2 separate regions of the Homo sapiens genome follow, and region 2 is linked to region 1. The links are contacts of gene promoters, found by promoter capture Hi-C in blood cells and fetal thymus (Javierre and others, 2016). All regions are on one chromosome and are shown on one strand. Each heading gives the region's core, a stretch centred on a gene start or on the middle of the fragment in contact. The rest is flanking DNA. Distances are from core to core; before and after follow the strand shown. Region 1 holds the start of CEP250-AS1 (CEP250 antisense RNA 1). Region 2 overlaps RBM39 (RNA binding motif protein 39).

Evidence for each region. Contacts are between HindIII fragments. The CHiCAGO score rates a contact against its expected background, and 5 or more counts as called.
Region 2: a contact is called between a fragment that was not itself captured here and the fragment with the promoter of CEP250-AS1 in region 1, in 1 of 17 cell types (erythroblasts). The highest score is 5.3, in erythroblasts.

The regions. Positions count from the first base shown.
Region 1 is chr20:35,489,484-35,493,282 of GRCh38, reverse strand. CEP250-AS1 (CEP250 antisense RNA 1) reads left to right here and starts at 2,301. Exons shown (of 3, transcript NR_184017.1): 1 at 2,301-2,427. It overlaps CEP250 (centrosomal protein 250), which reads right to left. Exons shown (of 35, transcript NM_007186.6): 21 at 2,479-2,646; 22 at 1,937-2,071. RefSeq lists an enhancer at 2,343-2,502. The HindIII fragment of the contact is 5,140 bases long and covers 1-3,609 here.
Region 2 is chr20:35,734,922-35,738,900 of GRCh38, reverse strand. All of the region lies in intron 3 of RBM39 (RNA binding motif protein 39), which reads left to right. Among named protein-coding and RNA genes, the nearest start is that of RBM39, 5.3 kb to the left of the region's middle. The HindIII fragment of the contact is 2,513 bases long and covers 40-2,552 here.

The DNA of each region.
Region 1 (3,799 bases), core at 1,052-3,551:
CTCACAAAGTGCACTGGCTCACCCAGGTTTCTTGGTCAGAGTCCATGAATTGGTAATAGTCTCTCACCTAGACCATGGAAACAGTCTCCTAACCATATCCCTACTTCCACTTGATGCCACGATCCCCTAAAAACACACACACACTATTCTCTACTCAGGAGAGTAGAGAATACATATACATATATGTATATACATATGTATACGTATATATAAATAAATCATATCCCACCCCTGCTTTTTAAATACCATCCAACTGCCCAGGCGCGGTGGCTCACGCCTATCATCCCAACACTTAGGGAAACCAAGGTGGGTGGATCACTTGAGGTCAGAAGTTTGAGACGACCCTGGCCAACATGGTGAAACCCTTTCTCCACTAAAAATACAAAAATTAGCCAAGCATGGTGGCGGGCACCTGTAATCCCAGCTACTTGGGAGGCTGAGGCACAAGAATTGCTTGAACCTGGGAGGCGAAGGTTGCAGTGAGCTGAGATAGTGCCACCGCACTCTAGCCTGGGTGACAGAGCGAGACTCAGTCTCAAACAAATACATACATACATACCACCCAACAGTTTCCCATTGCTCTTAGAACAAAATCCAAGCTCCTACAATGGCTGACACAGGGCTTCTGGCTACCGCTCCACTCGCCCCTGAGTTTATCAAGCTGGAGCCACACTGCCTCCTTTTTGTCCTTGAACTTCCCAAGCCCTCTTCTGTGTCCCAGGGCCCTTGCGACAGGTGTTTCCTCTGCCTAAAGTGTTCTTCACATGGCAGGCATTTTTTTTTTCAAATGGCTTGAGATATAACTCATATACCATACAATTCACTCATTTAACGTATACTGTGTAGTGGGTTTTAGGATATTCACAGAGTTGTGCAACTATCATCGCAATCAATCTTAGAACATTTCCATCAATCCCAAAATAAACCCCGTGCCCATTCACAGTCAATCCCCATTCCCCACCCCATTCCCCACCATAAATCTGTTTTCTGCCTCTATAGAGTTGCCTATTCTTGGTGTTTCATATAAATGGAAGCATATCATATAAAATATATGGCTCTTCCACTTAACCTGATGTTTTCAAGGTTCACCTATGTTGTATCACGGAGCTGGTTTCTTTCTAACCTTCAAGTCTCAGCTCAGATGTTACTTTCTCAGTGAGGCCTTCCCTGACCACTAAGTGCAAAGTGAACCTCCTTTGACTCACTCTCAGTTGTATCATTCTATTTCCTTTACAGCACTTATCACAAACTGTAATAATCTCATTTACTTTGTGTCTGCTCATTTGTCATCCATTTCTGCCACAGGAATGTAAGTTCCTTGAGAGCAGGGGCAATGTCTGTTATGCTGACTGCTGTGCCACACCTTTTTTTTTTTTTTTTTTTTTTTGAGACTCGCTCTATCACCAAGGCTGGAATGCAGTGGCGTGACCTCGGCTCACTGCAACCTCCGCCTCCTGGGCTCAAGCTATTCTCCTGCTTCAGCCTCCCAAGCAGCTGGGATTACAGGCAAATGCCACCACACACAGCTAATTTTTGTATTTTTGTAGAGATGAGGTTTCACCATGTTGGCCAGGCTAGTCTCGAACTCCTGACCTCAACTGATCTGTCCGCCTCAGCCTCCCAATGTGCTGGGATTACAGGGGCCTGCCACCATGCCCGGCTAATTTTTGTATTTTTAGTAGAGATGGGTTTCACCATGTTGCTCAGGTTGGTCTTTAACTCCTGACCTTAGGTGATCCACCCACCTTGGCCTGCCAAAGTGCTGGGATTACAGGCGTGATCTACCCTGCCCAGCCTGTGCCATACCTTTATGTACTTGTCATATGTCAGCACCTAGCACAGGGCCTGGCACATAAGAAGTGCCCAAGAACCCTTCATGGTCGAATGGGTAAATGAGTGCCCCTTTCTCCCCTACTCCCGAGACCACCCTCCATACCTGCTCCTTTAATTTCTGGACTTTCATGTCCTGCCTCAGTCGTTCCAGTTGTTGGCTGGCATCTGCTAGCTCCTTCTGCGTCTGCAGCAGTGTCTCCAGGAGGGATACTCTCTCCTTCTCTGTTTCCAGCTGCATCTGTGGAGGGGTAGGGGGGTAACAGCTTGTGGGCTCAGGATTACCATGCTCACCAACGAGGCCACAAGCACATCCCAGCTGCCCTAGGGCTCTCCTAGCAAATGGGAAGGGGCTGAGGGCAAAGGAAGGTCTGAGCCCATGGGTTCAGAACAAGGAAGTGCAAAGATTACCACTGGTTTGCAAGCTGACAGGATGTGGTACATGTCAGCCCTCCCTCAGGAAGTATGACATACTGCCGGAACTGTGGCTAATGGTGCGGACCACCCTGCTCACTGTTAGCAAAGTGGGTAGCTACCCTCTCTTCTGGAAGCCCCTCTGCAGCACTCCTCTTGGGAGTAGAAAAGGAAGTGGTCAAGGTAAGGAGATCGCTGACTGGACGTGCAGCTCCAATCCTCCTAGCTTCCCACCTGGCATAGGGCACTCTCTGCCTGGGTCCGTTCTTCTTCCCTCTGGGCCTGGATGGCCTCCATTTCTGTCTGCTGCTCCTTTAGCCTCATTTCCAGCTCCATTTTTTCCCTTTCTAAGCTCTCCAGAGCCTTTGCCAGCTCCTGCTGGTGCCAGGAGCGCTCCTTCTCCTGGCCACATGAAGGAAACACCATTAGAACCAAATGGGTGAGGAGGGGAGGCAGGGGTACTGGATTGGAAAAACAAAGTCTCTCTACTACTCACTAGTGGGGTGACCTTGGTACCTCTCTAAGCCTGTTGCCTCATCTGTAAAGCAAGGCTAATATTCCCTGCCTTATCTATCTTACCAAATTTCATGACAACCAAATGAGATTCATTTTAAAAAATAAAATTATATAATACATGTGGAAGTACCTTCCAAACTGCAATTGTCCCTTATATATGCTACAAGTATCTGGGTTTTAAAATGTATTTCTATTTTTAATTTTTTTTTGGAGACGGAGTCTTGCCCTGTCACCCAGGCTGGACTGCAGTGGCACGATCTCCGCTCACTGCAACCTCCACCTTTCAGGTTCAAGTGATTCTCCTGTCTCAGCCTCCCTAGCAGCTGGGACTACAGGTGCCCCCCACCATGCCCAGCTAATTTTTGTATTTTTAGTAGAGATGGGGTTTCAACATGTTGGCCAGGCTGGTCATGAACTCCTGACCTCAAGTGATCTGCCTGCCTCGGCCTCCCAAAGTGCTGGGATTATAGGCATGAGCCACTGTGCCTAGCCTAGGCATTCTTATTTTTAGAGATGGGGTCTCACTATGTTGCCCAGGCTGGACTCGAACTCCTGGGCGCAAGTGGTCCTCCTGCCTCAGCCTCCTGAGTAGCTAAGAACACAGGGGCATGACACCACACACAGCTCCGTATTTGTTATCTTTAAAGCAGCCACATTGTGGTTGACAGTTGTAACAATGAACTGAGGCGGCCAATTCTGGCTGTCTGCTGCCTGCTCTCCTCTACTCAGAGTTGCAGAGTTAGCCCCTGAAGAATCAGGCCTGGCCCAGTGAGGATGTCTCCCTGTATTATATAAGAGCATTAGGATAGGGGTGCTTCTTGTCTTAGCGGTCTTCCAGCAACCAAAGCTTTCCCAAGCTCTCTGACTAGTTCAGGACCCTCTATTAGGTGTACAGGATAGAGGTGAAGGGCTCTGGAGTTGGGCTGCCTGGGTGGAGAATCTTTAATCTACCACTACTAGCATGATCTCAATTTCTAAACAACTCTGTGCCTCAGTTTCTTCATCTATTAAAATGGGGATAACAACAGTGTCATTCTCC
Region 2 (3,979 bases), core at 47-2,546, 250 kb before region 1:
TTCCTGTGGCTAAAGTATACAAAATTCTCTTCTGAAGCTTTTCTTTGCTGCTTTTAGAAAATTGGTTCTTTGCCTTTTGAGACAAACTCTTGGAGGAACTGTGGATTTTTTTGCTTAGATTTCAGAATATAGTTTCAGATACCTTCCCCTCCAAGTCCATCATGACAATCTGGTGACAAGTTCTGTATTAGAGGTTGTCTTGTTTTAAATTTGTTAACTTTGGTTTGATATTTGGTTATCTTACTGATAAAACTGTTATATATCCATTGATCTTAAAAGGTAGAAAGAGTTAAATTAGGTGATAACTAGGCCATGGAAAGTATTGTTTGCCCTAAAGTGCCGAAGGAGTCAAAGCTGTGAATTATTTCTGCAACTTGCTGCTCAGAGGCCCTTTTGGAAGTGATGGAACAGGTACTTAAGTACTTCTAAAGGTGGCTTTCATTATCTTAGGCCTTTTAAACTCTAGACTTAACAGGGTGGGGATTTTGGAAATTATGAATATATCTGTACACTTTATTTGGGTAAGATGAGTGACTCAATAGAACTCTGCTATAGACTAGTACAGAAAACAGTGTACGAAAAGTCTTAGGTAACAGATATGATGAGATCCACTTTTTTTTTTTCTTTTCTTGTGAGTCGGAGTCTTGCTCTGTAGCCCAGGCTGGAGCGCAGTGGCGCAGTCTGGGCTCACTGCAACCTCCGCCTCCTGGGTTCAAGTGATTCTTTGATTTTTTTTTTTTTCTTTGACATGGAGTCTGGCAGTGTCGCCCAGGCTGGGGTGCAGTGGTTCTATCACGGCTCACTGCAACCACTGCCTCCCAGATTCAAGTGATTCCCCTGCCTCAGCCTCCGATTAGCTGGGACTACAGGCGCGCGCCATCACGCCTGGCTAATTTTTTTTTTATTTTTAGTAGAGAGGGAGTTTCACCGTGTTAGCCAGAATGGTCTCCATCTCCTGACCTCTCATGATCCTCCTGCTGTGGCCTCCCAAAGTGTTGGGATTACAGGTGTGAGCCACCGCGCCTGGCCTTTTTTTTTTTTTTTTTTTTTTTGACACGGAGTCTTGCTCTGTTGCCCAGGCTGGAGTGCAGTGGTGTGATCTCTGCTCACTGCAAGCTCCGCCTCCTGGGTTCATGCTATTCTCCTGCCTCAGCCTCCCAGGTAGCAGGGACTACAGGCGCCTGCCACCATGCCTGGCTAATTTTTTGTAATTTTAGTAGAGACAGGGTTTCATTGTGTTAGCCAGAATTGACCTTGTGATCCGCCTGCCTTGGCCTCCAAAAGTGCTGGGATTACAGGTGTGAGCCACCGTGCCCAGCCTCTGTCTTTATTTTTTCTTTGAGACAGAGTTTCGTTTTTGTCACCCAGGCTGGAGCGCCATGACACGATCTCAGCTCACAGCAACCTCTGCCTCCTGGGTTCAGGCAGTTCTCCTGCCTCAGCCTCCCGAGTAGCTGGGATTACAGGTTCCTGCCACCACGCCTGGCTAATTTTTTTTTTTTTTTTTTTTTGAGATGGAGTTTCAGTCTGTTGCCCAGGCTGGAGTGCAGTGGCGCAGTCTTGGCTCACTGCAACCTCTGCCACCCGGGCTTAAGCGATTCTTCCGCCTCAGCCTCCCGAGCAGCTGGGATTACAGGTGCCTGCCACCGCACCTGGCTAATTTTTGTACTTTTGGTAGAGATGGGGATTCACCATCCTGGCCAGGCTGGTCTTCAACTCCTGACCTCGTGATCCACCTGCCTTGGCCTCCCAAAGTGCTGGGATTACAGGCGTGAGCCATCATGCCCAGCCAATTTTTGTGTTTTTAGTAGAGACAGGGTTTCACGATGTTGGCCAGGATGGTCTCCATCTCTTGACCTCATGATCCGCCCGCCTTGGCTTCCCAAAGTGCTGGGATTACAGGCGTGAGACATGGACCCAACTGAGACTCCGTCTTAAAAAAAAAGTCTGGGCTTGGCGTGGTGGCTCACACCTGTAATCCCAGCACTTTGGGAGGCTCAGGCGGGTGGATCACAAGGTCAGGAGATCGAGACCATCCTGGCCAACATGGTGAAACCCCGTCTCTACTAAAAATACAAAAATTAGCTGGGCGTGGTGGTGCACGCCTGTAGTCCCAGCTACTCTCGGGAGGCTGAGGCAGGAGAATCGCTTGAACCTGGGAGGCAGAGGTTGTAATGAGCTGAGATTATGCCATTGTACTCCAGCCTGGAGACAGAGCGAGACTCCGTCTCAAACAAACATAAAAATCTGTCATACTTACGACCTTATGTTAATGAAAAACGAGAGAAAAATAGCCATTTATTTGATTTCTTTTTGGCTCTTTTCCTCCTAAGATCCCTAAATGCTTCATAGTAAGTATGTCAGTCTTTCTCACTACAACTGTGTTAGGTAGGTTGATAAAATTTCATAAAACAGATGAGAAAATATATAATGTTATTCAGGGCTTGTTAAGCCACTATTTTTTTTTTTTGTAGTTCCCCTAAAATAATGTGGTAATGGATTAAAAATGATATAATTTGTAGAAAATGTGCTCCTTTTTTCTGGTATAAGCTTGGATGGGAGTCATTTATAGTTCCTCACCAATCACAAGAAATTGTGGGGATCAGGTTGGGTTTAGTCTTGATGTGGGATCTGATGCAACCAACCAGAGGTATGGTTTATGTCATCTGGTTTTAGACTTTCTGCCACAGTAATGGTTTCCTAATGTTTTTGTTTTGCAATTCTCTAATCAAAAGAAAACCCAGGAAGGTGTATCCATATAAATTGACATAAATTATCCAATTTAGGTGTCAGGCCGAGTGGCTAAAGATTTCGCTTCAAGTGCCAGAAGGATAAGAACGTACACTTTTGGGTACAGACCTTCGTTACTGTACCATTGTCTCATGTCGCTTTTTGCCACTAAGGTCATCTCCGGTGTCTACTTGTTTTTATCCTGTGTATAAGCTGATTAAGGCTACAAGCTTTTACAAGGAAGCTGAGCATCAAGTTCTCCATGTGTGATATTCGGTGGCCTTTGTCTAATGTAGAGAACCACAGGACTAAATAGGAGAATGGACAATTTTCTTTAACCATGAGATTGTCTAAGGGAAGATCCTTTCAAAACACTTTGGTAATCTTAAAATACTTTCCAGTCAGACTTCTCGTCAATTATAGGTGATAAATAAATGATTCCCTTGTTCAATCAGGACTCTTGATTTTCTGAAGGAACTTTATGTTTCAAATTAATTTTAAAGTTACCTGGAAGAAAATTTTTGTATTTAGGAATAGATATAAAACATACAGAACACTCTGCTTTAAACCTTTAGTACTAAATTAAATTTCTTAACCAAAGGAAAGTGCCGTGTTGCATTTTTCATTCTAAAACTTCATTGTCTTAAAAGCCACATTGAGCTATAGTTTGTTAGGTAGTAGAAAAATGGCATGTTCTGAGAAACAGTTGACTGAGTATAAATTTTTTTAATTGTATAATTCTGATTCTTAACATACACTTCATAGTATCCTAGAATAGTAAAAGGAACAAAGTTATTGTGACACAGACTGGTTGTCAACCTATTTTCTGAAGAGCTGTAAACCTGAGTTTTTGCATATGTCAAGGTATGCATCCTAAGTGCTTGAGCTTGCCCTCATGGGAATATTATTTGTTAAAGTAACCAGTTTTGCAAAGTCTAAATCAGCGTCCATTCCGTTAAGCTCTTTAGAGAATTACTCAATAAAAGATAACATTAAAATGACACAGTTGAAATATATTGGCTACTGTGGTGTGGATTATCTATAAATTTTGGAATAAATGACTTTTCTATTTTTTTTCTTATTTTCCAGAATACTTTGCATTAAAAATTTAGATCTTCTTACATGGAAGAGGTCAAATCCAGTTATAGCAAAACACCTTTACTGCAGAGGCCATATAACCAAAAAGTCCAAAGGCCCAGCCCAGTGGACCATTTACTTCAGTGATGTTCAGTACAAAATTTCACTGCCA